7 separate regions of the Homo sapiens genome follow, and all the other regions are linked to region 1. The links are contacts of gene promoters, found by promoter capture Hi-C in blood cells and fetal thymus (Javierre and others, 2016). All regions are on one chromosome and are shown on one strand. The core of a region is centred on a gene start or on the middle of the fragment in contact, and the rest is flanking DNA. Distances in the headings are between cores, read along the strand shown.

Region 1 (4,244 bases), core at 1-2,500:
CCTGAACTCAGGCAATCCGCCCACCTCGGCCTCCTAAAGGATAGGATTACAGGCGTGAGCCACCGCGCCCGGCCCCTTCTCTTTTTTAAAACCAATTTCACTAACATTTACTTAAAAATGATTTTCTGCTTGGCAGAAGTGACTTAAGGCATGTGGGGGAGACACTGCGGGTCTGTCTCAGATTCCTTTAGACACCAATGCTCCACAGTTTTACGACTAGGTAATAGTCCGATAATCACCCATGAGTTCCTGGACTCCGGTTTGTTGTGGGATTGGAAATAAACGAGAAAGGCTGCGTTCATCATCATGGCCTTAATTTCTTCTCCCAACTTCCGGTCGTGCAGGTGTCTTGGGCAGGTGATCCCGAGGCCACTCTGCCGTGTTCTGTGAATCTTGGCGGAAGGGAGGCGAGCTGTAAATAAAAGCGTGACCATTAGAATCGCCGCTGTGTAGTATTAACCTGTTGAGCGCGGGGCTTCCCGGGGCTGGAGCTGCACCGCGGGCTCTGCTGTCTGGGACTCTCCTCCAGCGCGGACCCGACAGGACGCCAGGGACCAGGCCGGTCCGGCCGGGACAGCGGGGCCTCGGGCAGCGACGGGGCCGGGCCTCCCCCCAGCACGTCCCCAGCTCGGGCACTGAGGCCTTGCGGAGACCCCAGGACTCGCCGCGGAGGCCACCAGTGCGCGTCTCGCGTGGCGCTACGGCCTCGGGAATTCCGTCACGGCATAGCCGGGTCCAGCGCGGTGTAGACCGGGGCCCCGCGCCTTGCTCGGCCAGAGCGGCTCAGGTACTACTCCAGGTCCGGCCGCACTCGCGGCCACTGCGAACAGCCGGGACACCCAATCCCACTCCGCCCAGGGCCAAGAAGCCCGAGGAGGCCGCAGAACCGCTCCCGCTCCCACTCGCGGCCCCAAGGCCCCACCCCCCCCTCCGCCGCGCGCATGCGCCGCCCCCGAGCAGCCGCATGTGGCGACGGGAGGGGCCTGCCAGCTCCCCTCCTCCCCGGGACCGGCTCACTCCGGCCCCGCCGAGGGGGGAGCTGGTTTCCCCTCGTCCTCGGGGCCCCCTCGTTGCAGAGCGGCGGCCACGGAACCGCAAGGGCCAGAGCGGGCTGCCGGCGCCAGCTACCCCGGAGCCGTGGCTGGCGGCAGAGGCGCGGGGCGTCACTGGAGGCCGGGCGGCTCCTCGGCGCTCCCCCTCGGTGGCCGGGGCGGGATGGTGCGTCCCGCAGGGCGCGCGCGGCTCCCGCGCTTCGGGCGCTCGGCGCGGGCGCGGGCGGGGGCGCGGAGGGCGGGGGAGCGGACCCCGATTCGCAGGACCGGGCCCGGGCTGCGCGGGCAGGGCCGTTGGCGGGGCGAGTGGGGGCGCCGGGCGCCGCGGGGGCCGGGGGCGGGGGGTGGGCGGGGCCGGGCGCCGCCGCGGAGCCTCCCGGGCCGCCGCGATCATGTCGGACCAGGCGCCCAAAGTTCCTGAGGAGATGTTCAGGGAGGTCAAGTATTACGCGGTGGGCGACATCGACCCGCAGGTACCGCGCCCGCCCCTGCCGCGGCCTCCTCCCCCGTCCGCGTCCCCGTCCGTCCCCGTCCCCGTCCCCGTCCCCGCTCCTGCCGCGGGCGCGCGCCGGGCGCAGAGCGTCGGGTCCGCCGAGGCCGCTGGCCTGACTGCGCTGAGGGCAGGGGCGACCGCGGGGTGGGCGCGGGAGGCCCGGGCCCGGGGGAGTGCGGGAGGGAAGGCGGCTGGGGCTCTGTACCTCGGCCCCTAGTGCGCGCCCTGAGCCCCCGGCCTGCGGCCCTGGGGTCGCCGCCCCCGACCCACCGGGCCGCCTCGTTCTCTGCTCCTTTGCTGAGCGGGACGGGCGCGGGGTCGCGTCTCCCCATTCCCCGCGCCGGGCGTCTCGGCTCCCGGGAGAGCAGCTCCGAGGGCGGACGAGGGGCGCCGGGATCCCCAGCCGGGGCAGCTCGCGCGGGGACCCCAGCCTCGCTCGGCCGGCGGGGGTCGTGGCCGTGCACCGGCTTGGCCGCCTCCGCCACCCGGGCAGCTGCCGTCCTGTGCGGGGCTGAGGAGCGCTCCCTTCCAGCCTGTGTCCCTGCACGTGGGGGCTGGCATTCGTCTTCCTTGATTTTCCCACTTGGACGATTAATTTTACGGTACCCTGGTAACACCATCACATTACACATTTAATTTTGTGTAGTTTGGGCTCACGCCAAAGGATATTGTGGGTTTTCCTTAGTATTCCTATAATAATATATCTGTTTGATGTCACACAGTTATCAGTCCGTGGTAGGAATGCATCTTAGTTGAATATCCTCTTCAGGTTAATCTTCAAAATATTTCCTTCTTAAAAGTTTAGCTGTACAGTTGTGTTGCCTTGGGTGTGACATCAGTGGCCCCCACCTTGGAGGATGGGGATCCCCAGTGATCAGAGTTAGGCCTGGAAGGGCGGAGACTCATATTTCGCAGATGAACTTGGATGGTGTAGAAGGAATTGTAGAAGGCTGAGTGATCTTGGCCTTCTTGAGGTTCGTCCTTGTAACAACTTTTTGGACCCTTTTTGCCCTGTAACTTTAGGGTAAAGAGACTTCAAGGCCGGGTTTACCCCTGTAATCCCAGCACTTTGGGAGGCCAAGGCGGGTGGATCACCTGAGGTCATGAGTTCGAGACCAGCCTGGCCAACATGGTGAAGCCTCATCTCTACTAAAAATACAAAAATTAGCCGGGCGTGGTGGCGGGCGCCTGTGGTCTCAGCTACTCGGGAGGCTGAGGCAGGAGAATTGCTGGAACCTGGGAGGTGGAAGTTGCAGTGAGCCGAGATCGCGCCACTGCACTCCAGCCTGGGCAACAACAGCTAGACTCCGTCTCAAAAAAAAAAAAAAAGCCTTCTATCTTTGAATTTACAGAGTAAAACAGTTGCTGAACACGGAGCGATGAAGATGAGTGCCTGTAACAGTGTTAGCTTTTTCCAGTATTGATGATTCCCCCGCCCCTCTTTTTTTTGTTTGTTTTTTTGTTTTTGTTTTTTGCTATCCACCATTTTTCTCTTCCCCCTCCTTCCTAGCCTTCGTGTTTCATTTTAGGACTTTGGCTCTTATAGGGGACTTGAACCAAATGTTACTTAAAACCTGGAACAAGTTGAACTGGAACCATATTTACTCGACTTTGAATCAAATCTAAGTGCTTAAAAATGTCCTTGGCAAACCACTTTCATCTGAAACAGTATATTTTCTGAAAAGTTTTGAGCCTGGACATCTGATTCTCTGACTCTTATGACTGTGGATTATAAGTTCACATGTTGACCATCTAATATGAGGCAGGCATGGACTAGGTGCCAGGTATAATACAGAGGTGAAGAGGACATGGTACCTGCCCTTTAGCGCCCCTCATTGGTGGGGGAGGGAGCACACCTGGACATATCACAGTACAAGGTGTAGCAGATTTCTCCACTGGGGTGCAAAGTAGACACCACTGAAATGTCACTCAGTAGATGTCATTTCAGTTGGGTTTTGAGATAAGCAGAAGTTAAGAACATGAAGGAATATTTTCATGTGGAGCGTATGTGCTGAGGAATGAAGGCATTCATGCGTTTGGGATACATCAGGATGATCACTATATCTGGAACAGAGTGATATGAGATAAATCTATTAAGATACTCAGTAGTGTGGAGATTGAAGAGAAGCTATTGGTTTTGGCATCCTCAAAGTTCGTGAAAACCGAGTAAAGTGTTTTTGGTAGAGTGTTGGTGGAAGGGGCTGGATTGCAGGGAGTTGAAGAGTGAATGGAAACTGAGAACAGAAAGGTTAGACTCTTCAGGAAGTTTGTCCTGAGAAGGAAATAGAGAAGGTGCCTGAGGAAGAGAGGGCTGGGGAGGGATCTGTGTTGCATCACAAGCGCGTGGAAGGATGTGGGTGACTTTACTGTTTACAGGTGGAGGGAACATAGCTATGGACAGGGAAACTCATGAAGAAGGGAGTAGGATCAGAAACAGACTGGAGGATAGGAAAAGGAGGGGTGCCTTTTCTGAAGACCAGTCGAATGGATGCGTGAAGCTAAAAATGCTTAGAGGTCAAGGGAAGGAAGAAAGGTAAAGTGGCCCATGGCCAGTGACCGCTGTTTTTTCACTTACTAAATATTGAGCCTCTGCTCTAGTTCATATCTATTAGTGGTCGGTAAAGTATTCTGAAAAGGTTGTCTAGCTTGTGGGTGACTTTATTTTTTTTTGAGGTTGGAGCAAAAGTTTAATAAGTGAA
Region 2 (4,244 bases), core at 1,147-3,646, 780 kb before region 1:
CCTGGGGTCCTCAGGCAATGTAATATCCCTCCACAAATGGGGGCTTCAAGACAAGGAATTCACTGCGAATTGCTTTCGTGTCTTCATAAAACTTTTTTTTTTCCCTTTTTTGAGGCAGGGACTCACTGTTGCCCAAGCTGGAGTGACGTGACAGGATCTCTGCTCACTGCAACCTCCGCCTCCCCAGCTCAAGCGATCCTCCCACCTCAGCCTTCCCAGTAGCTGGGATTACAGGTGCCTGCCACCACACCCGGCTAATTTTTAAAAAAATTTTCTTCTTATTTTTTTTTTTTTTTTTTAGCAGAGACAGGGTTTCTCCACATTGGATAAGCTGGTCTCAAACTCCTGACCTCAAGTGATGCGCCTGCCTCAGCCTCTCAAAGTGCTGGGATTACAGACGTGAACCACCGCGCGCGGCCTTGTGTTTCTTAATGTAGTATTTGGTTCACCAGTATTTTATTTAGGATTTTTTTGCATCAATATTCATAAACATTATCGGTTGGTCATCTTTTCTGTGCTATCTCTTCCAGGTATAGATATAAACGATATATTTGCTTCATTAAAAGGATGTGGAAATTTTCTCATTTTAAATGCTTTGGAACAATTTATGCAGCATAAGTTATATCTGGTCTCCAAACATTTAGTAGAATTCCTCTGTAACATGTGGGCCTTTCTGCATGCCTAGTTTTTTGATCATTTTATTTTTTTCTGTAGAGATTGACTGGTATGAGCTTTAGATCTCCACAGCAGTTGATACTGATACACTGTTTATCCTAAGAAATTGTCCATATCACATAGGTTTTTAAATTATCTGCAAAAAGATCTACAAAGTAGTCTTTTATTGCTTACAAAATCCCTTTTATGGGCAACGAACTTGAATAGGTGTTTCTCCACAGAAGATAAACAAATGACCCACAAGCATATGAGAAGATGTTCAACCTCACTAACCATTAGGGAAATGTAACTCCAAATCACAATGAGACACCCCCTCACACTCATTAGGGTGGCTATGACACACACAAAAACAAAGAAACATAAAATAGCACATGTTGGTGAAGATGTGGCGAAATGGAAGAAACCCTTGAGCACTGTTGGTGGGGATGTCAAATGTTGTGGCTGCGGTGGAAAAGAGGATGACAGTTTCTCAAAAATTAAACATAGAACTGCCATGCGACCCAGCATTTCCACGCCCCCATACAGACACAGAAGAATTGGAAGCAGGCTCTTAAAAAGACGTGTGCACACTCATGTTCGTAACAGCATTCGTCATCGTCAAGCATCCCGTGTCCACTGATGGATGAATGGGTAACAAATGCACTGTGTGTTTATAATGGAATATGACTCAGCCTTGAAAAGGAAGGGAATCCTGACACAGGCTGTCACATGATGGACCTTGAGGACATCGTGCCAAGTGAACCAGGCCAGTCACAAAAGGATAAGCACCATAGGATCCCAACCACATGAGGCACTTATTGTCGTCAAATTCAGAGGCAGAAAGTGGAGTGGGGGCGGGGGGTGCTGGGGGCTCAGGAAGGGGATGGGAGTTTGTGTTTCATGGGGACAGAGTGTCAGTTCTGTAAGAGGAAAAGGTTCTGGAGATGGATGGTTGGGACAGCTGTACAGCAGTGTGAACATATGTAATAAAACAGAACTGGACACTGACAGTTAAAATCATATATATTGATGTATAATTTTGATGCTACATGTTTTACATAATTTGATGTTACGTTCTACAATTTTAAAAAAGTCCTTTTTATCAATAGCAATTCTTGTGTTTCTTTTTATTTGTACATTCTTTTTTCTTAATTAGCTAGCGGTTTGTCTATTTCACTGATTTTTTTTTCTAAGGACTGGGATTTTAATCTATTAATTTTGTTAAATAAGTGTTTTCCCTTGATTAAAGACTAATGGGAGAGAAAATTTCAGGAAGCTTCACATGACATCATCTGAACGGCTGTCATCAGAGGCTCCCTGGCAAGGCTGGTGCCATCATCTCAGGGGCACGGCCATCCTGGGAAGCTGAGGCGAAGCCTGCCTTTGGTGACTGAGGTGCACATTGGCAATGTAAGGGCCAGGGAAGAAGCCGAAGCCAGGAGCAGCACTGGAAGGCACACGCCTGTCATCCCAGCCCTTTGGGAGGCCAAGGCAGGCGGATCGCTTGAGCTCAGGAGTTCAAGACCAGCCTGGGCAATGTGGTGAAACCCCATCTCTACAAAAAATACAAAAATTAGCCAGGTGTGGTGGTGCACGCCTGTAATCCTAGCTACTCGGGAGGCTGAGAGGGGAGGTTCTCTTGAGCCCAGGAGGTCAAGTCTGCAGTGAGTCAGGAATGCACCACTGCATTCCAGCCTGGGTGACAGAGAAAGAAAGACCCTGTCTCCAAAAAAATAAGGAGAACAAAACATGGTATCATTCTTCAGACACCATCCACAGATGCTCTCCCTTGATGGTGAGAAAAAATTCTCTCCATTGTCAATTTTAGAGAAAAAACACGACTAGCGTCTGAGATTGAAAACATCCAGGCTAGCTTTCGAAGCTGGGTGAAGAGCTTAGGTGCGGTTTTCATTACACCTCCTCAACAGCAGCTGTTGTTACTTGGAATCAGAGAAGTGCTCCTCTCCGTCTGGTCTGAAGGGCATCTGCCCAGTCCTCTAGTCACCTGCAGTGGGTCGGGAGGTAGGGCTTTCTTTCTGGAGGGGTTTCCTCAGTGTCCAGCTCTGCAGCCTGGTGCGACGACATGTCCAGAATGCCCCACTGACTTTCCTGTCTGGATCTACGTCGGACCCTAGAGAAGAGCCGCAAGGACCTCTGCCCTCTCGCTGCGGCCTGCAGGCAACACCAAAGGTCAGCAAGAAAGCTTCCTTTTTGAGCGTGAAGCTTCAAAACTGCCGTGCTTCTCATTTCTTTTAAGCACACAGCAACGAGCTGCACCTCAAGGTGTACAACACATGGCTCTGTGCTTCTGTTCCTAGAGCCACCAATTGTCAGTACTGTGTGTTTCCTACAGAACTCTTTTATCACTTACTTTTCCCTTCAGACGTGACTGTCACTCTTTCAAAACATGCAAATACATGTTCGAATAAGAAAAGGACCTGGCCGCACACGGTGGCTCACACCTGTAATCCAAGCACTTTGGGTGGCGAAGACAGGCAGATCATTTGGGGCCAGGAGTTCAAGACCAAACTGGACAACATGGTGAAACCCTGTCTCTACTAAAAATATTAAAAATTAGCTGAGCATGGTGGTGCACACCTGTGGTCCCAGCCACTGGGGAAGCTGAGGTGGGAGGATCAGCTGAGCGCAGGAAATCAGGGCTACATTGAGCTGTGATTGCACCACTGCACTCCCGGTGACACAGGCAGAAACCAAGGGTGAGATTTCAGGACTCAGCGGCCATGTTTCAACAGGAATGATCAGTGCCACACACCTGAACCACTTCCAAACCTCCTGTGTCTGGGACGGGGACACCCCTGGGCCTGCCACAAATACACTGCCTCACGTAATTGGTTGCACTAAATAAATACACACCAAGACCTCCAGCATGCCAGGCACTGCTCAGGGGGCAACTATGGGAAATAACAATACCTTCTTCAAAGGATCTACCACTCTTGAGTGTACCCTTAATTCAAAGAAAGCCCCATTTTCTCCCTGAAATGTCAAGGCGTTTTTTGCCCATGTTCTGTAGAGATCCCATTACCCAAAGTACAGGTTTTAAAAACAAGGAATGACTTATTCTTGAACTATGGATTAAAGAGGAAGAAAACTGCTTTGGGCTCTAATCACATGGCATTTTCAGATTATGACTTAGGCTTAAAAATTCAATTAAATCGGATTTGAGAAATTCACCCAACACATTTCGCTTTTGTTACCTGTTGCTTCCTCCTCCATTTCAATTTCCCAAATTTGCCTCTTCTCTTGCTTTCTTTCTTCCTTACTTAGGTCCAAACTAAGGCACTTTCCTTTTCATCCTTACGAGAACGGGGAAAACAGGGTGATAAAATGTATCTTTGAAAGCAGCCACCGTCTGCCCACTGCAGGCCACCCTGCTTGTGGAAGGCCCCCCGTTTGCGTTACGGAACCAGAGTGGAAACTGCAAGGTTTTATTAACATGGCTTCCAAATTACATACAATGTAGTTCAGTTTTTGGTATGAAATCACACAAATGAAACACACAACAGTACATTTTCTTGAAATGTACGTAGTTGAAACTACGTCACTAGAATTCACATGTGCATTACACAGAG
Region 3 (4,244 bases), core at 553-3,052, 710 kb before region 1:
CCCATGTATTTAATGGACTGTTTTCAATTCATTATAATTATAATACTAAAAACCTGGAAACAAGTTAAATTTCCATCAAAATTGTTTTTAAATAAATTATAACGGAACACTCTTCATCCTCAGAAAGTCTGTGCCATCAGAAGAAGATGTATATATATTGCTAGCTTTTTTAAAAAGCACCTTTCATCTGTGTAAGGCTCTGAGAATCAAAGGTTTAATCTGTGTATCTTTTACCTACAGGAGACATCTTGATATTCAGTCTCTCTCAAGAGGAACTGTGCATTTCTATTTAAGCTCATTCATCTATTAGAGAATAAACAACTGCTTCGAAAGTGTTGCCTATCTACCTAGCAAGAACACTTTGTCCTTCTCTCCTGTGTCAGTGTACCTCTGAAGGTCAAAGGTAAATGACAGATAAGGGACATGCGGCACTAAAGCTCCTAGTTTCATGGTGAGAAAAAGCTAGCTGGTTCTGAGTTTAAAAACTTTTGTCAGAAAGCTGACCTTGGAGTAGTTGCTAAATCACACGTGCGCTTTGGGGTGCAAGGCCTGCATTCTACACTTGCCAGGCTGTTGACTTTTGCAGGGGACACCATTTTCATACATAGAGGATATCTTGGGGCTTCCTGACAGCTTTACCACCCTATATTTCTAAGACTATTTTAGTGAAGCTAAAGAAAATCTGTACGTATTACCAGCTGCCAGCTTTCCACGGCATTTTACAAGGAAATGCACAAGAATAACAGATGCTAGCATAAGCAAAATTATTCCAACAAATTAGACTGACAGCAGTTCCAAGTTCAGGACAACCACTATGGGGAAGATGCAAAGGATTACTTGAAAGAAAGCCACCCTTCCCCATTCAAGTATGCGTGTGTTCATGTCTCCATTCATTCAACGGCTACTGCAGGAGACGTAGGCACCACACCAATCAGCGACGCTCAGGGCCACCTAAGAGGATGTGTGGATGAGCGATGCTAACCAGGGTGGGAAAAACTTTGGGGGAACACAGGGACATGCGATGGGGTCAGGAGGGGTTAGGAGTTAATTGTACTTTAAAACCTTATGCTTCTCTGCCATGCCCAGTGGCCTGGTGGTGACCCGCAGACACTGTCAAGAGGCGCCCCCCTCCCTTACACTCTGGGCCAGCCCGTCACCATCACAGTCCCCTGCTCCATGGCCACAGGACAACTTCATAATACTTCTCACCCACGTATGGGAGGGTCCCAGGATCTAGGCCACTGGCCAATCCCCTGCACTTGAACTACTACCTTAGGCTACTCTCCACTTCTGAAACTTCTCTCCCACACCCTTAGGAATCCCAAATTCCCCACCCATCAGCAGCATCCACCACACCCTTGAGTTCCTTCACCTTCTCGCTCTAATGGCCCCTCTGAGTGGCAGCTGTTCTCCCACAGCTTCTTGCCAAAGGTCTGGAGGTAGAAGGGCTCCTTCTTGATCTAACTGCTGCTTCCAGACCCAGCTTTCATCTCATGCCACCAGCTGACATGCCCCAGCACCACACTGGCCCTCTCATTTCTCAGGGAGTTCAGCTCCAGTCTGAATAAACACAAAGACGGCCCTTGCCGTGCCCTGCCTCAGATCCGTGCCACCTCTGCCTCCAGTCCTGGTGACCATTCCACCCTTCCATCTCACTCCCTCTAGGATCCTGATTCAAACAATCGTTCAACTCTACAAAGATCTCCAATGATCTCCTTTTCACCATCTCAGCCTCCTCCCTGGTGTCTTCTCCTCCCTGGCATCTACCTTATGATCCACAGCCCATCGTTATCAGCACTGCCTTCCCTTTACTACTTTGTGAAAACTATGACCCTCATAAACCCAACTGCCTGCCTATTCCACACCTAGTGTGCGCAGATGAGCGCAGCTGGACAGAGACACACAACCATGCTGACTGCCCTCACCTCAAATCCACACCCCTCAAGGGCTCAGCAGCCCCATCCATCCCTGCGCACATCCACTCTTCGAAAGCACGAACGGATGCTCCAAAGCGCCTCTCCTCAGACCTTCAACACGCCCTCCTACCTCCCCACTCTAGCTCCCTGCTACCCACCGAGGAAACTGAGGCCACCAAGGAAGAACTGACACAAGACTCCTCCACCTGCCCATCCATCTGCCCCAGCTGTGGAGGACTCCCTGCTCCTCCCCCTCAGCAAGCCCACCTCTGGCACGTGGTCCTGGACAAGACAAGTTTTTCCTCTCATCTGCATCAATGATGTTTTTCCTTCTTAACTAGCTCTTTTCTGTAAGTGCAATGAATAAAAAACTTAGAATAAAAAACTTTCTCTCAAGCCCACTTGGCTCCCATCAATTATCATCCAACTTCTGTTTTAGCAAAACACAGTCAAAGTCTGTCAATACAGTGGCCTCAAGTCCGTGCCCCATCTCAGCCAGGCCTGTGCCTCCTCCTCACCAGCCCCGCCCCAAGTGCAGGCCACACCCACTGACCCATTGGCAGCAGCCCTGCCAGCCCGTGGCCACCTGCTTCCTTCCCCATCGACCGTCATCCTCCTTCCTCCCTCTCGGCTCCTTTGCCAGGCTCTCCTCCTGCCCCCATTCCCACGTCGAGTGCCGGGGTCCCAGTCCTTGGCCTCCCTGACGGGTTCTCCTCCTGCCCCTCCCCCTCCTGTGTCAAGTGCCCTAGGTCCCAGTCCTTGGTCTCCCCACACACAGACTCCCTCCTCCAGGGCTCTCATTTGAGGGCAGGGTCTAAATCCACCTATTCACCAACAACCTCCTGACCTGTACTTTGAGCCCAAACCCCTATACTGAATTCTCATCCAACTGCCTACTAGACCCCTCCACTCACATGGCTAGTTGGCATCTCAAATTTAATGCACCCAAAACAGAACTTTTGATCTCCCCACCTCAGGTGATGGCAACCAGACCAGCCCTCTAAATGCTCTGGTCACCTGGGCATCACTCTTACCTCCTCTCTCCCTCTCACACTCATCCAATCCATCAGCAAATCCCATCGGCCCCATCTTCCTACTTCATCCAGCTCTGAGCTCTCTGCACTCTCCCTGCTACCACACTGGTTTGCACCAGGATCATCTGTCACCTCCTAGCTAGACACCAGCTTCCACCCTTGCCACCCGACAGTCTCCTCTCAACACGGCAGCAAGAGGAATCTTCTAAAACATACACAAGGTCACGTCATTCCTCTGCTCAAACCCCTCTAATCCCTGCCCATTTCACTCCCTGCCAAAGTCCTGAGAATGGCTGGATGGCCCCACGGCCCCACGGTACCCAGGTTCTGCATTTCTTCTCTGCTTTGATCACTCCACAAAAGTCACGCTGGTCTCCTTTTGGCTACTCAAACACACAAGGCAGGGTCTCTCCTGGAGGAAGCCCCCTTATACTTGCTGATCACTCTGCCTGCAATCTTCTTCCCTGAACAGCCACATTGCTAACTTACAGATATCCCTCAACTCTTTCCTGCTCAGTGAAGTTCACCCTGATCACCCCATTTAAGATACAACCCATCCCTTCCCCGCATCCTGCTCAATTTCTCACTGCATTTTCATCTTCTAACATGCCACATAAAATACTTATGTTTACTGCTAATAAACAATAATAAGACTGTCTGATAGAAAGTAATATCATGGTTGAAGAAAGCTTTGTCTGGTTTGTTCGTCAATATAACTCAAATGCCAAAAATAGAGTAGTAGCTCAATAAATGTGTGTGTTCACAGGTACATGAAGTTAAAGCTTCGTATAAACTGCTCAAAAACCGTTTCCTAGCTTAAGGAACATGTTTCAGTAATAATCAGATCTGTATTTATTTGATTACAACAACTAAAAGATGGTGTGTCCCCTCTCCACCAGCTGACACTGGAATTGAAGGGGGGCATGCTGCCTGGAACCAAAGAGGGACACTCACCACTGCAAACATCCTCACCGGGAGACTTACAAAGTGTCACAGTTCAGGCATTCCAATAGCGGTCTCTAGTGTATTCTTTGCATTCAGACTGTACTCTCAGCACTTTCCACTCAATTATACAATAAGAGATACACATTTTTAAAGAAATATACTTGACCCATCAAACTAAAATCTAAATGAATGGGGAAGAGCCAAGGAAAACTCAATCTTACAAATTTGAATGTGAAAACTATTTTGCCGCAGAGACGGCTTCAGTGCAATAAACTAATAAATGCCTTCAGATGCACAGTAATCTATAACATAACAGATGCTCCTCAACATAGGATGGGGTTACATCCCA
Region 4 (4,244 bases), core at 1,085-3,584, 690 kb before region 1:
ATTGAGATAGATCATAATCTTAACTAAAATTAATACTGTAAAGTGTCCAGAAGAAAACAAGATAACAACTTTGGAGTAAACAAAGATTTCTTAGGTCACAAAATTCTTCATACTTCAACAAAATTAAAATTTTCTGCTCATGAAAAGACATATTTAAGAAAATGAGGCCAGGCATGGTAGCTCACGCCTATAATCCCGGCACTTTGGGAGGCCAAGGCGGGCAGATCACTTGAGGTCAGGAGTTCAAGACCAGCTTGGCCAACGTGGTGAAACCCTGTCTCTACCAAAAATATAAAAAATTAGCCAGGTGTGGTGGTACGTGCCTGTAATCCCAGCTACTCAGGAGGCTGAGGCAGGAGAATCACATGAACCCAGGAGGCAGAGGGTGCAGTGAGCCGAGATCATGCCACTGCACTCCAGCCTGGGCGCCAGAGTGAGACTCTGTCTCAAAGAAAAAAAGAAAATGAAAACACAAGCCACAAACTCAGAGAAAATATTTATAATACGAATATGTAATATGTAATTATCTGCCAATGGAATGATACCCAGAATATACAGACAACTATCTCTACCTAGAATATATGCAGTATGTATGCATACATATTCTCCATAGAGATGATACATGTAGAAAATACATGTATAGACAGCATATCCTATGAAAAATATATAGGATATATATAGCATATATAGAAACAAATAAAAAGACAACCCACTTTTTTTTGAGTGAGAGACTAAAACTAGAAGCAAAGAAGATATACGGAAGTCCAATCGCACATGGAATGGTGCTCAACATCACTAGAGGTCAGACAAATGGAAACTAAAACCACGATGACACACTCACTAGAAGGATTAAATCAAGAGATTGGCAACATTAAATGATGAGGAACAATGAGGTACTCCCCCACAGTACCGGTGGGAGTGCCAAATGGTACAGCCACTTTGGAAAACCAATAGTGGTTTGTTATAAAAGTAAACATACCTCTAGACCGTCTCAGCAATTCCACTACTTGTTAATAACCAAGAGAAACAAAAACATACATCCACAAAAAGATGGGTAATATGATCCTTTTAGTAGCTTTATTCATAATAACAAAAAAACTGGAAACAACCCAAATGTCTATCATTGGGAGAATGAACAAATGGGGTACATCCATAAAATGGAATAAATTATTAATACACACAACTACTTGGATGAATCTCAAAAACGTGCCGAGCAACAGAAGCAAGACACAGGAGCGCACACACACTATATGACTACATTTAGGTGATGTTCCAGACTAGGAAATGCCAATCTAGGTATAGAAATAAGAACGCTTTACTCTGAGGAGTCAGGACTGAACAGACAAAAACATTCTGTGTAATGGAACTGTTCCTTATCAACCAAGGGATGGTAACTTGGATGTATACATGTATCAAAACTTACTGTACACTTTACATCTATGCTTATCTCTAAGTGTAAACATTATCACCATTTCACAAGTATTTTAAGTGGTGCAAATATGTTTTTAAAGCTTCTCTCATTTCTTCCTCTACACATGCCAAAACTATGTGAAAATGGCAAGTCTTTTTAAATAACTATGTTAGAAGACAATAGCATAACTAGCACTAATGTGGCCGCATTAACTATAAAAGACTGATATTTAGTCTTTATAATTAGATCTAACTTGTTTCAAATATAATGATTTCTCTATATGAACCAAGGAAGAACATTAGTTAAATAAAAGGAGTCACCTAAAATAGGCTTTTCAATTAAAATTAATTAATTGCTTTTAAGTTCTATAATTAAGATTCTAATATAGACCTTAACAGAGCTCCTAGAATGAAGTCATCTGGAAAACCGCAACACCCTTTCTGCCAGTCTTAAGCAATGCAGACCAAAGCGTGCGGCAACACAGATGGGGCACAACAGGATGCTCGGCAACAATGCAGATATTTAGGAAAGGGAGTCCAGGAACTAGGAAGACACCAAAACAGACGGATATGTGGCACATTAAAAATGGTACTCCTCCCTGAGGACTACACAGTTTATTTAGACTTCTAAAAAAGATGGATCACAAGCCCTCCAAAACCAAATCCTACAAAAGTTGAAATACTAGCAACTTCTACTTCTCAGCACTTAAAACAGTATTATGCGCATGAGTTCCCAATAATTATCTCATTGACTAATATTCTACAATGCAGCCGGGAAAAAAAAAAGCCCCAAATATTTATTGCTAGTGGAAAAGACCAGCACATCACCAGCCTCCAGGAAGGACAACTGAAAGTCCTAAGATCAAGAGCATCACAAAGAACCTGCCATCATCACAAAAGCAAGCAACATAAACAAAGTAAACTAAAACCATCAAGGAAAGGATAAAAAAAGTAAATATACGAATACCTTTTAAAAATATTTTTCAACAGTAAATTTAAAATTAAATTATGAGATACACAGTTTAAAAGTAAAAAGTAAATAATACATCTAGCAGATGGTATAAAAAAGACAAAATACTTAATATGGATGAGCTCTTACTTTCTGCTAGAAAGATTCATACTGAAAACAACCCTTAGGAAGTTTCATGTGAGAGTGTTAACAGCAAAAAAAGAAAAAAAAAAAGAAAAAAAAATCACAAGAGTGAAACAGATGCAACTTCTAGCTCTTTGCCTTCCAAATTCAAGGGTCGGCGTTTAACCACCTTATGTTTCCCTGTCTTTTCATATTTAAAAAGGAAAAAGAATATTTCTCGCTTACAGTAAAAAAATTTTTAAATCAGAAAATATTGGAATACAAAGACTAAATAATTCCACCATTTAGTAGTAATCATTATTACCATTTCCATCTGTAACTACATAGACTTTTTGTTTTTTTTGAGAATTACACACACATATTTAGATTTGCAGTTACAGGGGGAGCTGAAGGGAAGAATTCTATCATCTTGCTCTTTACACTTAATGCATCACGAGCACCTTTCCAAGTCAAACAGAACTAAGACAACACTTGGTATACTGCATTACACTTTAAGGTTAGGCCATGATTTACTCTTTTATACATTGGTTCCATTTATTTTCAATGCTGCAAACAAATACTTGATACATATACCTTTGAACACAGATTAATTCTTTTGGATAAATTTGTTAAAGTGGAATTGTTGAGTCCAAGGACAGGAGCTTTAAAGCTTTTAATACTGTCAAGAACAGTGAAGAGTATAAGATTTTACTCTACTTGCAAGCTAACAAGTTAGTTGGCCACCATTTCACGGAAGCTGTAAGAAAGCTAAGACTCTTCGTCAGAAATAAGGAGACTAGGACAATGTTATCTGTATCACTAGCAGTAGCATTCTGCACCAGCTCCAAGAAGCCCCACTCCCAACTGGGCCGTGTGAAGAGAGCCAGGTGACCCTGCACACATAGGAGGTTGTGTTACAGGAAGGACTTCTCTGCACAGGAAACCCTGAATGTGTCACAATGGGGAGTAAGCAAACCTGTCCTTGACTCCAGAGGAAGACACTGCATCTGTAGCTGTCTGCTACACCAGAATCCTCTAAAAGATATTCCGGAACAAAGGACAGGCAGTGATTTGCTCGCTTTGCTCACAAAACCTGCAGCTAAATGAAGGACCCTCAGAAAACTGTCTCCTGACAATGTTACCAAAACGCTCCCTCAAGTGAATCAGACTACATCTGATCAATAATTCTGAGGTCTGTTAATATTAAAGTAGGTTAAAATTCTCCATTTTCTTTTAATTTTTACTGAATATATTTTCATACACCTATTGTTCATTTGCTTAATCAAGTCCTGAATTACTGTCCCACATTATTTGTCCTTCTTTTTCTCCCTCCTCCCCCACACAAGAGACACTGAAAATCAAAGAAAAAAAAAATTTTCTTTTTTTTTTTTTGGACAGAGGGTCTCACTCTGTCACCCAAACTGGAGGGCAGTGGCGCAATCACAGCTCACTGCAACCTCCACCTCCTGGGCTCAAGTGATCCTCCAACCTCAGCCTCCTGAGTAGCTGGGACCACAGGTGTGTGCCACCACACCTAGCTAATTTTTTGTATTTTTGGTAGAGATGGGGCTTTGCCATGTTGCCCATGTTGGTCTCCTGAGCTCAAGTGACCCGTCCACCTAGGCCTCCCAAAGTGCTGGGATTACAGGCATAAGACACAGCACCCAGCCAGGTCACCATTTTTTATAGTAGCTCTCTTTTGTTTTAATGTATTAATTAGGACTGTCCAGGAACTGAAGTTAAAAACGTCTAGAACTAGAAG
Region 5 (4,244 bases), core at 657-3,156, 670 kb before region 1:
TTGAGTTATAATTACCAGAGAATTTACTAATAAACAGTCAATTCCCTGCGCACTTAAAAAATAATTCAGTTTACAAAATTTTAATCTATACCCAACTTTCCAGTAATGAAACCCATGTATAAGTGATTACTGCTGTATGTTAAGTATAATTAAATGACTAGTATTTCATCTCAGAAGGACATAAACTTCTTACCTTTTTGCCAGATAGCAAATCTTCTCCAAGTAAATCATCTTCAAGTTCACTTGGGAGAAAAAAAAGAGACATGTCAATGATTATTCCCATAAGACTTGCAAGTTTGTAGATCACTTGGAAATTTACCAAGAACTCTACAGCTCAGGTACCTTTTTTTTTTTTTTTTTTTTTGAGACAAAGCCTCACCGTGTTGCCCAGGATGGAGTACAATGGTGCAATCTCAGCTGACTGCAACCTCTGCCTCCCAGGCTCAAGCAATTCTCCTGCCTCAGCCTCCCAAGTAGCTGGGATTACATTATGCCCGGCTAATTTTGTGTATCTTTAGTAGAGACGGGATTTCACCATGTTGGCCAGGCTGGTCTCGAACTCCTGACCTCATGATCCGCCTGCCTTGGCCTCCCAAAGTGTTGGGATTACAGGCATGAGCCACCATGCCCGGCCAGCTTGGATACTTTTACATTAAGTTTGCTATGCTTTCCTCTTTCTTTATTAATAATAAAAATGTATTTTCAAATGCACAGAGAACATTTTATCTTTTTAAGTATGGGGAGGCTTTGCTATAGGTAGTGCCTCACTATACTTCTAATCTTAGTTTTGTACCTTAATATGGGATCTTAATCTCTTTGGGTCTGTTGAATAATCAGTAAAAGCAGAAACTGTAATATAGTAAGTCATATCTAAGCTTTCTCCTATCTTTAAAAACCTTAATGAAGAAGGAAAAGATGCACAATATAATTGATTAGGAAGATAAAAACCAAAACCACTAGAGACCGTTTGACATTCATCAAACCAAAAGAAACTGAAAAAAAAAATAAATTTTAAAAACGAACGAGAACATAAAATCAAATCACAGTAACTAAGGGAAATTAGCTTTGTATAACATGGATGTCGTATCAGTGATTTGCAATTTTTTCTAGCATATTTCTGTTTTAAATGATTAGAAGCCGGCTTTCTCCCTATTTTTACAACTAAAACAGAAACCCTTAGCAAATAAAAAAGCTGAAGACATTTTCCACTGCATTTATTAGAAACAAGATTTTTTTAGTTGATAAAAATGGCTACCACTAGATCATGTTTTTAATTCTGGGGAAATCAATCTCTTGGAAGCAAATATCATTAAAAGTCAACATACAGAAATATACAAAGAGGAAATACAATTAGATGGACTGTAACTCTAGGTGCCAATACTCATGGAGATTTAACTGCATCGATATTGTTATTAGAATTGCTGCTTTATTTTTAATAGGTGCTCTGGTTACAAAATTCTATAGGTATTGAGAAATCAGCAAAACCATTATTTTACCAAAAAATCATGTTTATTTTTAGCATGCCACTTTGCAGAATACTATAATCTCCGGGAATGCATATATGGAGTTATAATGAAATGCATGTTTCTATATAACGCCTTTTAGAACTAAAAACAACCTGACAAATCATTTAATTCATGCACTAAAGACTTTATTCGTTATTTTAAGTTATCCTCCAGTAAGTCCTATATTACATTTTACAGATAAAGAAAACAAGGATAGGACATGAAATAACTTGCCTAAAGTCACACAGCAGTGACAGATGCAGGACAAGAACTTAACAGCCCTTGAAAAACAATCTTTCACAAACTCCTATAGGATAGTTATAAGAGAATAACATATAGCTTCTTCCAACATTTTAAAACCACTATCATCTATCAAATACAATTTTTGTATCTTCAGTGTTCCAACTACCCTCCAGAGGCAGGGAGAAAACAATGCTGTCTAGTCAACAATATTTACAATAACCCCATTTGAAAATTTGATTCCAGATAACCAAAAACACACAAGCACCTCTTTTAAAGACAGGCACTCGTCTATACCATCACCTTAAGTAACTAAAAATGGAATGTGATGCCAGTTTCCCAGGGCAAACTGACAAAGTCATAAAAACAGGCATTAGTAATTATACAAGCAAAAATCTAGAAAGTATCTGTGCCTCTTGCTGACAAGTACATGGAAATAAATCAACCTTTAATAACTACTTATTTTTTCTCAACGAAAACATTTTTAAAAAGATAAGTAAGTGTATCAACTATAAAATGAGTAGAGAAAATGAAGACTAGTACTTGTTTCATGACTAATGAGAAACAGGATGGGGGACAGTGGGATTCAGTACAGAACAACAGCAAGTATAAACAGCAGCCCCAGCGATCCACAGCATCCGCTCAATGCACTTCTGTGCCAGGCACCACTTGACATGTTCCACACACACGAGCTTTTCATTGACATAATACCCCTCTCAGGTAGACACACCGTTGCCATTTTCAAAATGTGAAAACAGAGACACTAAGATGCTAATTTGCCCAAGGTCATCCAGCTAGGAAGTGGTGACACCAGTGAGAGAATCCAAGTCCTAACTACTATGCACACACCCCACAGAAACTACATGTACTTTTCTTCTTGTCATCGTAAAGCTGGACCCTCACAAAGGATGTACACATAAGGAATAAATTTATTACATATGTAAAACTACATCCACTCTTGGCAAAAACAACAATGAACTAATGGAAATGACTGGTCTCCATCTGGCAGTTTCAAAGGGGTGAGCAGTCACTCTGGCTGGCAGCAGCAGTAAGTGTTCTAGGAAATCAAACAAGCACTGGGCTGATGAAGAGGCTTCCTGTGTTCAATTCTAGAGTTCCCTAAAGATTCCACCAGTAATCACTACTTGAGTACGAACAATCTTTCTGGCAGGCATTTCTTATTAAAGCTTACAGACAATGAGCTCTTTGAAAGCAAGTATATTTTTACTTAGAAACAGAAGTTATCCTCAAAGACGTTTTTCAGGAAACAAGTATTTGTTGTCAGCCACTTGGCTACAGCCTTTCAAAACCAGAAGTGAACTTGACCACTGTAAGTGGGGCTGTAGTCTCTGGGTCCTCCCCACTCTAGTCCACTCTCCGTCTTACCTGCCTGCTCTGTGGCTGGATTGCGTCCTCCAGGAGCAGCTGGCACAGCCGGTCCTAACCTCTGGCTTCCAGATGGATTCGCCCATTGGGACGCACCAACATAACGTCACCAAGTAGGAGGAGAAAGACCGGCCCCTCCCCTCTCACCTGAAGAAATAGAGACTACAGTATCCCTCCCCCAACAGCCTTCACTGGGCCCTAGGACACCACTTCCCACAAGGCCGGGGCAGGAACTGGTACTCCCTGGATGGGAATGAACTCATTAGTTCTTTAACCCTGGCCTGTAAATAGACCCGTCATTAAATTTCTTCAGTTAAAACTTTTTGGGCCAGGCATGATGATTCACACCGTAATCTCAACACTTTGGGAAGCTGAGGTGGTTGGATCACCTGAGACCAGGAGTTCAAGACCAGCCTGGCCAACACGGCGAAACCCCTTCTCTACTAAAAATATAAATATTAGCCAGGCACGGTGGCACATGCCTGTAATCCCGGCTACTCGGGAGACTGAGGCATGAGAATCGCTTGAACCTGGGAGGTAGAGGTTGCAGTGAGCTGATATCGCACCACTGCACTCCAGAGCAGACTCTGTCTCAAAAAAACAAAAACAAAAACAAACAAAAACTTTTTGAGTGGGTATCTCTTTCTTGCCTGGACACATGAGACATTCATATCTTTAAAAAAAATAAATAAAACACAATTTCAGGTGTTGGTTCAGCAATGACATCATATTCTTCCAAACACCACTACCAGTACAGCATGGCAGAAGAACTTACCATAGTAATTCCTGACCCACTCTTCTCACCTTCCAAGTGTCTCTCTCTGTGTCATGCAGCACACAGAGAGGCTGTCTTATGCTTAAAACATCAAAAAAGAAATACATGTGGCAAAAGCTTCATAGATGCAAACACGTCACTGAAGACAGTAAAAAAAAGAGCTCGTTCACAAACAATATGAAACAACTGCAATTCATAATACGGTAAACAATAAAACCTAGAACCGTCTCACACCATGACCAAAACAAGTTCCATCATAGCAGAAAGCAAGACAGCTGCCAAAGACATCTAAAGTCATGTCAAATGGACACAGGAGCCAACCTGAAGAAATTCCAGTT
Region 6 (4,244 bases), core at 649-3,148, 600 kb before region 1:
TTTTGTATTTTCAGTAGAGACAGGGTTTCACTGTGTTAGCCAGGATAGTCTCAATCTCCTGACCTCATGATCCGCCCGCCTTGGCCTCCCAAAGTGCTGGGATTACAGGCGTGAGTCCCCACGCCTGGCCAGTTGTCATGTTTCTTAATTTTTACTTAATCTGGAACAGATCCTCAGTCTTCATTTTATTATGACCTTGTCACTTCGTGACGACCTTGTCACTTTCGAAGAGCGCTAGCCAGTTATTTTGCAGAGTGTTGCTCAGTTTGTCTGAGGGCTTCGCTATGCATTTTGGGCAGGAAACCCCAGGAGGGATGCTTCTCTGTGCCTCAGTCGGTTTGTCCTGTTCCTGCTGATGGTAACTCTTCTCACTCGGTCAATAGGGTGTCTGCCAGGTCTTTCCACTGGGAATTCCCTTTTCCCTGTGTAATATGTATCTACGTATGGAGAGATACTTCGAGGCTGTGTGAATATGCTGTTCCTAATCAAACTTCCCCCACAAGCTTAGCATCCATTGATGGTTCTTGCTGAATTATTATGATGATGGGTGCCAAATGATGACTGTACAACTTCATAATTCTGCATGTATTACTTGTGATGCTACTGCAAGGAAGAGCTTTCGCTATTTCCCATTTATTTAAGCATTCAATTCTTTCTTTATGCCAGATGGAATCCTGATTTTCCATTTTATTCTATGAATTATAATTCATTATAATCATTACTTATGATGTTCAAAATGTCACAGATTTGGCCATTGGAAAACCCTTCGAGTTTTAGAGAATCTGGTAAAAATGCTATTTCCCAAACGTACCTAGGCTGGTTCTTCTCTTGCTCACTCCCCTTCAGTGTGGCTATGTCATTTCTTTTTTTTTTTTTTTTTTGAGACGGAGTCTTGCTCTGTTGCCCAGCTGGAGTACAGTGGCGTGATCTCGGCTCATTGCAACCTCCGCCTCCTGGGTTCAAGTGACTCTCCTGCCTCAGCCTCCCGAGTAGCTGGGACTACAGGTGCATGCCACCATATCTGGCTAATTTTTGTATTTTTAGTAAAAAAGGGGTTTCACCATGTTGGCCAGGATGGTCTTGATCTCTTGACCTCATGACCTGCCTGCCTCGGCCTCCCAAAGTGCTGGGATCACAGGCGTGAGCCACTGCACCTGGCCTCTGGCATCTATTTCTTTTTTCTTTTTTTTTTTTTTGAGACGGAGTCTCCCTCTGTCTGTCACCCAGGCTGGAGTGCAGTGGCGCGATCTCAGCTCAGTGCAAGCTCCGCCTCCCGGGTTCACACCATTCTTCTGCCTCAGCCTCCCGAGTAGCTGGGACTACAGGTGCCCGCCACCACGCCCGGCTAATTTTTTGTATTTTTAGTAGAGACGGGGTTTCACTGTGTTAGCCAGGATGGTCTCGATCTCCTGACCTTGTGATCCACCTGCCTCGGCCTCTCAAAGTGCTGGAATCACAGGCATGAGCCACCGTGCCCAGCCTCTGGCATCTCTTTCTAATACAGTTGGGTCGGTTAGTTTCTGTTTGTATTCCACGTGGGTCCTTCCGGCTTATTTATTTATTTCATTTACCTGGAATGGTTAGCTTGGTTCTAAAAGTCGGAACTAAACAGCAGATGAACAGAGAGCACGGTATGTTTTCTTCTCCTTCTTACGTGAAAGCGACCTCATCCTGTAGAGACACCACAGTTTACTCAACTCCTGTCCTACATATGGCCGTTTCGATTATTCCCACAATATTCTGATGACGATCAGTGCCGCAGTGAGTAATCTCACGTGTATGTAGTTTCATGCTGTCGGAGGTATGTTTTTAGAGTGGGATCCTAGGAGTAGGTGACTCTAAATAAGTGCAGATCTCATTTTGTTAGGTGTTGCGAATTGCCTCCCAGAGCTGTGCCAGCTTTCACTCCCACCAGCAGTGTGGGAGGGTGCTGATTCCCCATGGCCTCATCAGAAGAAGGCGTTGCCAGCCAGGCGCAGTGGCTCACATCTGTAATCCCAGCACTTTGGGAGGCCAAGGCGGGCGGATCACTTGAGGTCAGGAGTTTGAGACCAGCCTGGCCAACATGGAGAAACCCTGTCTCTACTAAAAATACAAAAATTAGCCAGGCGTGGTGGTGTGCACCTGTAATCCCCACTACTTGGGAGGTTGAGGCAGGAAAATTGCTTGAACCCAGGAGGCAGAGGTTTCAGTGAACCGAGATTGTGCCACTGCACTCCAGCCTGGGTGACAAAAAAAAAGAAGAAGAAGAAGAAGAAGAGGAAGAAGGGATTTTCATACTGATTTTTGCTAATCTGATAGGCAAGAAATGCTATCTCCGTGTGGTTTCAATTTACATATTTCTAGTCGTGAGTGAGGTAGAACATTTTTTGTATGGCGAGGATCATTTTGACATCTCTTTTGTGAATTATCTGTTCATATATTTTCTAAATGTTTCTTTCTTTTTTTTTCTTGAGACAGTTTCACTCTTTTTGCCCAGGCCGGAGTGCAATGGCATGATCTCAGCTCACTGCAACCTCCACCTCCTGGGTTGAAGTGATTCTCCTGCCTCAGCCTCCCAAGTAGCTGGGATTACAGGCACCTACCACCACGCCTGGCTAAATTTTGTATTTTTAGTAGAGACAGGATTTCACCGTGTTGGCCAGGATGGTCTCCATCTCTTGACCTCGTGATCTGCCTGCCTCAGCCTTCCAAAGTACTGGGATTAAAGGCGTGAGCCACCGCACCTGGCCAATTTTTCTCTTTTTTTTTGGTTCTTTTCTTTCAATTTTAAAGACGTCTTTATAGATTGGAGACATGAGTCCTTCATCCGTGATATACGTTACAAATATTTTCTCCCAATTTATCAGGCTTTTTTGTTTCATTTATGATATTTTGCCACACAGCTTTATTTTATTTTTATGTAGTCAAATTTATTATTCTCTTTTAATTGCCTCTGGATTTGGGGTTATAGTTAGAAAGACTCAATGTGGAGGTTGAATAGGAATTTAACCATATTTTCTTCTAGTACTTTTATTATTTTATTTTTAAATATTTAGATCCCTGATCCACTGGGAGTTTATCTTTATGTTTGGTGTGACATATGGATTTAATTTTATCTTTTTCTCAAAGGCCACCAACTGTTCAGTCAATTGATTAAAACACTTGTCCCTACCCCAGTGGTGTGAGATGCCGCTTCTGCCGGACACTGATTTTCCACGTGTTTTGGTCATTTCAGGACCCTCTAGTCAATTCCTCTCTTCAGTTTGTCTATTCACGTATCAACACTGCACTGTTTTCTTTAAAGAAGCTTTATAGTATTGTTTCCATTCATTGTCACAAGTTTTTATTCTAACCTCTGAAATGGACATCAAAATTCTCTTGTGAATTAAGTGGGATCTTAAGTGAAAGCACTTGGCCTTTTGAAAGCTTTTAGAAAATAACAATTTCCCTTCCCTTATTGAACCTGACTACTTATTTTGATTGCACCCTGACTTCCAGGAATATTTACCGGAGAGCCATTGGTAAGTAAGTATAAATATTGGGTTTAACTTCCAAAGTCTGATATGGGGGAAAGGAAAAAGCTTAGACAGCTGGCCGGCCCATGTGGCCTGAGCTGCAATGCCAGGCTCTCTTTCTCCAGTAGCAGAGGCGGGTGCCATGGGGTGATTCCAGGGGCAGAGGCTGGTGCCAAGGGGTAATTCGAGGCTCCCAGGTCTCCAGAGGCCTCGGCTCAGAACTAGCTTGCTGTCCTGACCACCAGTCACAGAAACCAGCCACATTTAAGGGATGGGGAGCAGGGGCATGGATCCGAGAGAAGGGTGGAAAATTGAGCCTCCTTTTGGCGATGAATCTGGCGCACTCATATGAGTTTCCCTCCCCTGCAGTAACAAGTCACCACAGTGCACTGGCTTAAACAACACAGGCTCATTCCCTTACAGCTCTGGAGGCCAGAAGTCTACGGTGAAGGTGTTGGCAGGCCTTCCTGGAGGCTGCCTGCGCTCCTGAGGCCCCGAACCCCTCCTCGCATCACTCCACCCTCTCACCTCCATCCTCAGAGCTCCCAGCACTGACGCCTGCCCCTCTCCTAAAAGGTCCTCCGAGACCACCCGGGATGATCTGCCCATACCCAGATGCTTCATTCAGTCACGTTGCCACGTCCCTTCTGCCATGTAAGGTGACATATTCACAGGTTCTGGGGATTAGGAGGCGAACATCTTGGGCAGGGGCCAGGGCCCGCTATTCAGGCTACCTCAAAACATGAG
Region 7 (4,244 bases), core at 939-3,438, 580 kb before region 1:
TAGGAAGTTCAGTGAGTGCAACATTGAAATGCTAAGAGATGGCAGTACATGGCTGTTTATTTAGAAATGTGGAGCTCAGTAGGAAACAATCTGCAAAGCTGGAAGTGTTGCTTCTGGGGAGTGAGCACTGCAGGTGCAGTGGGGGCCAGGTTTTACATGTGCTGCTTTGAGAAACATTAAAAGGATAACTGATATCCCCCAAAAAGCACCGCAGTATGAACACACACACACAAACACACACATAAACACACGCATAAACATACATGCATAAACACACACATAAATACACGTAAACACACATACGTAAACACACGCACACACACAAACCCATAAACATACGCATAAACACATACACACATAAGCACATAAACACACATACACACATACACCCATACAAACACATAAACACACAAACACACATATACACATAAACACATACGTATACACACATAAACACATACATATACACATGAACACACACACACTCTGTCTCCCCTGTGTGTAGCCTGAAACGTCAAAGAATCGGCCGAGAGAAAAGGTGAGCCCCCTAGAGTGGAGAATTGACGGGCCATGTTGCAGGAGGAGCCTGGCTGATCTGAAGTTCCTCATTCCCGCCCTGGTCTGGGTGTGCTTGCCGTCATTTCTGAGGCATGTGCTTTTGGCTGGAGCCCCAGGTACAGCTCAGCTGTGCTCAGATTAACAGCGTCCATCAGATGGAAGTAGATTTTCCTCCCTGTGTGCTTCTGATAACACAGGCTGGATGTGTTCTGGGGAAGGATGAACCAAATGCATACAGCTTTTCTTATGATGAGAGGAAACAGGGAAAAACATGCACGATGCAAATGCAATATTATTTATGATCCGTTGGAACATTATTTCCCTAGCGTGAGCCCTGTTAAACACAGCCTTACTGTGCCTCAGGCAACGAGGCACATATGGCTGTAAACTCCTATTACAACTGAGAGCAGAATTGAGGTCTGATCCGATCATCGCCCTGCTGCTGGGGAAGTTTAATGATAGCTAGAGATGCTTAGTGTCTAATTTGTTTTGTCAGAATTGTGGTTCCCAAGGTCACGAATGCTGCAGCATTGCAGCCTGCAGAATATGGCGTGTCACGTGGCATGACAGATCATGAGAGCAGCTATGTTCCATCTGAGAAAGACCGTCTTATGCCAAGCTTTGTTTTCAGTGGCTTTAGTTCAAGGACAGTTGGTGCAATAGCAGGGCTGGAAGTGGTCTTGTAGCTCACTGAGTAATATCCCCTCACTTGGTGGAAACGTGGAGTCCTGGGGTCGTTGTGACTTGCTCCACGTCAGTCCATTATTGATGTTTCAGAAACACTTTCTACTGGGTGTCCATTGTGTCCCAGACTGGAAGTTATGTCCAGTGCCAAGGTCCAGGGAGAGTGGTGCCCAGCCCAGCCCAGGGAGCCCCTCTCTGGAGGATTGGTGGGTTGGGGGTTCCGATGGAGGCTGGAGGTGCTGGAACCAGGCTCAGACTCACAAGGAGGGGCAGGATGGTGCTCTGGGAAGTCTTCCTGGAGGAGCTGATCTTGACTAAGTCTTGAAGGACTAGGAACCACTGGGAAGGGTGGCTCAGCCTTTCAGACCGAGGGGCAGCCTGTGCGCAGAGGTGCAGTGCATGTACAGAGCTCTCAGCAAGGTGCCCAGAGGATGGTGCTGCCGTGTCGCAGCCAGGGGCCCCTCGTGCAGGGCTTTTATGCCAATGCAGAGGATAACCCTTGGGGTCACTCTTCCACTGTCCTCATGGGTAGCATCCGGCTTCCTTCTCTCCATACGAATCTCCCTTATCCTTAAGGTAATGTGGGAACCCTTGGTGGAACTTGGTAGAACTTGGGCATTCGGGTCTTTGGGTCACAGTTGGGTTGGTTTTCAGCAGCATGACTGTGGAGAATGTTGTGGAGAGCCTGGAGTGGGGAGAGAAGCCTGGAAAAGAGGCCTGCAGTCATCCAGAAGAGGGAGGAGGATGGGGGTGAAGAGGAGGTGAGTTGGAAGCTATTGAGAGATTCAGTGGTTGAATGGAGGGGTCGGGGAGGGTGGTGGTCTATGGTAACTCCTGAAGCTCTCCCTGGTTGGAGGTCCATGCCCTCCCAGGCTGGGGCTGCACACTGCTGCTGGATCTACAGTACCGGAGTCTTGTGGGCACTCCTGCCCTCAGAACTCCACTGGACATTGCCCTAGTGGGAACTCTCTGAGGTGGCCCCACCTCTGTGTCAGTTCTCTCCGTGGGAGCTGGGGCTCTCCAGGCCATCCTGTGAAATCTGGATGGAGGGAACCATGTCACCACAGCTCCTATAGAGAGGGCACTGCATAGATACTGTCAGAGTTTACTGCTTGTGAGTTCCAGAGGGGTGGGCTGAGCTGCACCTGGGCCTGCTTGAGCCTAGGTGGGCTTGAGCCCAGGTGGGGTGGCCAAGGAGCACTGCATTGGAACATGGGCAGCAGAGCCTTGAAATCATTCTATCCCCAAGGCCCTAGCGCTCTGGACCTGTGACAGGCAGAGCAGCCCTGAGAAGCTCAGAAGTTCCTGGGGTCACTCTTCCACTGTCTTGATGAGCAGCATCCAGCTTCCTTTTCTCCATACCAATCTCCTTATCAGCGGTCGCTTGGCTACACCCTTGATTTTTCTCCTAAACATGCTTTTTTGCTCTGTATGTGGCCAGGCTGAAAATTTTCCAAATCTTTAGGTTCTCTTCCCTTTTGATTATAAATTTCATCTTTAATTCATTTCTCTCTTCTTTCATTTTACTATAAGCAGTCAAGAGAAGCCAGGCTGCACCCTCAACACTTTGCTTAGTTATTTCTTCTGCTGAATACCTTATTTCATTGTTCACAAATTCATCCTTCCACAAAGCACTAGGAATGAACACAATTCAGCCAAGTTCTTTGCCACTTCATAGCAAAGATGGCCTTTCCTCCAGTTTCCAATAACATGTTCCTCTCCTCCTTCTGAAACTGCATCAAAATGGCCTTTACTGCCCATATTTCTACCAACATTCTCATTCTGACCTCTTATCAATCTTGAGGAAGATTGAGGTTTTCTCAGAGGCTCTCTTCTTCTTCTGTGCCTATACCTGAATCATCCTTGCTGTTCTGTTCACAGCAATGTAGGCTTTTTCTAGCATGCACCTCCAAACTCTTCCAGCCTCTACCCATTACCTAGCTCCAAAGAAGCTTTCACATTTTTAGGTATTTGTTATAGCAACATCCCCACTACTGGTACCAATTTCTTTCTTAGTCTCTTCAGGCTGCTATAACAACATACCTTAGATTGGGTAACTTAAAAAAAATAGATATGTAATGCTAACCATTCTAGAGACTGGGAAGTCCAAGATCAAGAGCCACAAAGCTTCAGCATCTGGTGAGGGTCTGTTTCTCATAAAGAGCACCTTCGATGTGCTCTCACATGGTGGAAGGGGTGAATATGTTCTCTTGGGCCTCTTTATAAAAGAGGCACTCCTTATAAAGTGCCTCCTTATAAAGGGCACTGATTCCATTAGTGCTTTGACCTCATGAGTAATCACCTCCCAAAGGCCCTACTTCGTAATACCATAACATTTGGGCTTAAGTTTCACCATGTGGATTTTGGGGGGATACAGACATTCAGACCCTCATAGAAACCTTCCCTGTAGTGTAGCCTTTTCTACACCTGTCCTCTGCAGGTGCCCCTTTCCTGCCCTGTCCCTCCTTATGCCAAAAGGGGAAGATCACTCCTTCACCTTCTCAGTTGAATTCATTCTCCAGGGCTTTGCTATTCCATGGGCTCCCTCCAAGCCTGGCAGTCACCTGTGCAAATAGGGGGTGGTGAGACCTCCCCACACTCTTCTTGGCCGGCCCTGGCACCCAAGGACCCCCTCAGGAAAAGGGGCTCACTTCTTGTCTGCACAGGGAAAGCAACATGTAACAGAGGGGAGGCCGCAGCCTTTCTCTGCACTTGCACAGGTGTTGGCGTAGCTACTAGACATACAGGCCTTCACTCTTACACGCATTTATCTAAAGCGAGTGATTATTGTTGGTTACGCTCGGGGGTAAAAGGGCCACGTGATCCCTGCCCACGAGGTTTTCAATCTAAGTAAAAGAGACAAAACAATTCAATGAAAGAAAAATATATATCCCAGTAAACGAGCCGGTGCTTTAAACCTCAGAGGGGTGAGGTTATTGGCTTTTTCTCTTCTTATTCATTCTTTTTTGCCTGGAGGGGAAACTTTCAACACTACCTTGCCT

What was found. The method cuts DNA at HindIII sites, captures the fragments that hold promoters and counts their contacts. A CHiCAGO score of 5 or more calls a contact.
Region 2: a fragment that was not itself captured here is called in contact with the fragment with the promoter of PAXIP1 in region 1 in 1 of 17 cell types (monocytes); the score reaches 5.4 in monocytes.
Region 3: a fragment that was not itself captured here is called in contact with the fragment with the promoter of PAXIP1 in region 1 in 4 of 17 cell types (fetal thymus, total CD4 T cells, total B cells and 1 more); the score reaches 7.5 in fetal thymus.
Region 4: a contact is called between a fragment that was not itself captured here and the fragment with the promoter of PAXIP1 in region 1, in 4 of 17 cell types (neutrophils, fetal thymus, naive CD8 T cells and 1 more). The highest score is 6.9, in neutrophils.
Region 5: a contact is called between a fragment that was not itself captured here and the fragment with the promoter of PAXIP1 in region 1, in 6 of 17 cell types (naive CD4 T cells, neutrophils, non-activated CD4 T cells and 3 more). The highest score is 7.6, in naive CD4 T cells.
Region 6: a fragment that was not itself captured here is called in contact with the fragment with the promoter of PAXIP1 in region 1 in 2 of 17 cell types (neutrophils and naive B cells); the score reaches 6.2 in neutrophils.
Region 7: a fragment that was not itself captured here is called in contact with the fragment with the promoter of PAXIP1 in region 1 in 1 of 17 cell types (neutrophils); the score reaches 6.0 in neutrophils.

Annotation. Positions count from the first base shown.
Region 1 is chr7:155,000,130-155,004,373 of GRCh38, reverse strand. It overlaps PAXIP1 (PAX interacting protein 1), which reads left to right and starts at 1,250. Exons shown (of 21, transcript NM_007349.4): 1 at 1,250-1,525. The coding sequence starts at 1,445. PAXIP1-DT (PAXIP1 divergent transcript) reads right to left here and starts at 941. Exons shown (of 1, transcript NR_028090.1): 1 at 1-941. RefSeq lists an enhancer at 1-355 and silencers at 600-679, 700-1,389, 1,420-1,789, 1,960-2,109. The HindIII fragment of the contact is 20,481 bases long and covers 1-4,244 here.
Region 2 is chr7:155,782,838-155,787,081 of GRCh38, reverse strand. No RefSeq gene overlaps it. Among named protein-coding and RNA genes, the nearest start is that of SHH, 28 kb to the left of the region's middle. RefSeq lists a silencer at 721-921 and an enhancer at 4,010-4,244. The HindIII fragment of the contact is 927 bases long and covers 1,933-2,859 here.
Region 3 is chr7:155,711,816-155,716,059 of GRCh38, reverse strand. The region is part of intron 8 of RBM33 (RNA binding motif protein 33); the gene reads right to left. Among named protein-coding and RNA genes, the nearest start is that of RBM33, 69 kb to the right of the region's middle. The HindIII fragment of the contact is 3,679 bases long and covers 1-3,641 here.
Region 4 is chr7:155,691,682-155,695,925 of GRCh38, reverse strand. All of the region lies in intron 5 of RBM33 (RNA binding motif protein 33), which reads right to left. Among named protein-coding and RNA genes, the nearest start is that of RBM33, 49 kb to the right of the region's middle. The HindIII fragment of the contact is 1,641 bases long and covers 1,514-3,154 here.
Region 5 is chr7:155,668,865-155,673,108 of GRCh38, reverse strand. RBM33 (RNA binding motif protein 33) reads right to left here. Exons shown (of 18, transcript NM_053043.3): 3 at 194-242. Among named protein-coding and RNA genes, the nearest start is that of RBM33, 26 kb to the right of the region's middle. The HindIII fragment of the contact is 2,057 bases long and covers 878-2,934 here.
Region 6 is chr7:155,604,194-155,608,437 of GRCh38, reverse strand. No RefSeq gene overlaps it. Among named protein-coding and RNA genes, the nearest start is that of RBM33-DT, 38 kb to the left of the region's middle. The HindIII fragment of the contact is 2,786 bases long and covers 506-3,291 here.
Region 7 is chr7:155,581,811-155,586,054 of GRCh38, reverse strand. No RefSeq gene overlaps it. Among named protein-coding and RNA genes, the nearest start is that of CNPY1, 37 kb to the right of the region's middle. The HindIII fragment of the contact is 2,017 bases long and covers 1,180-3,196 here.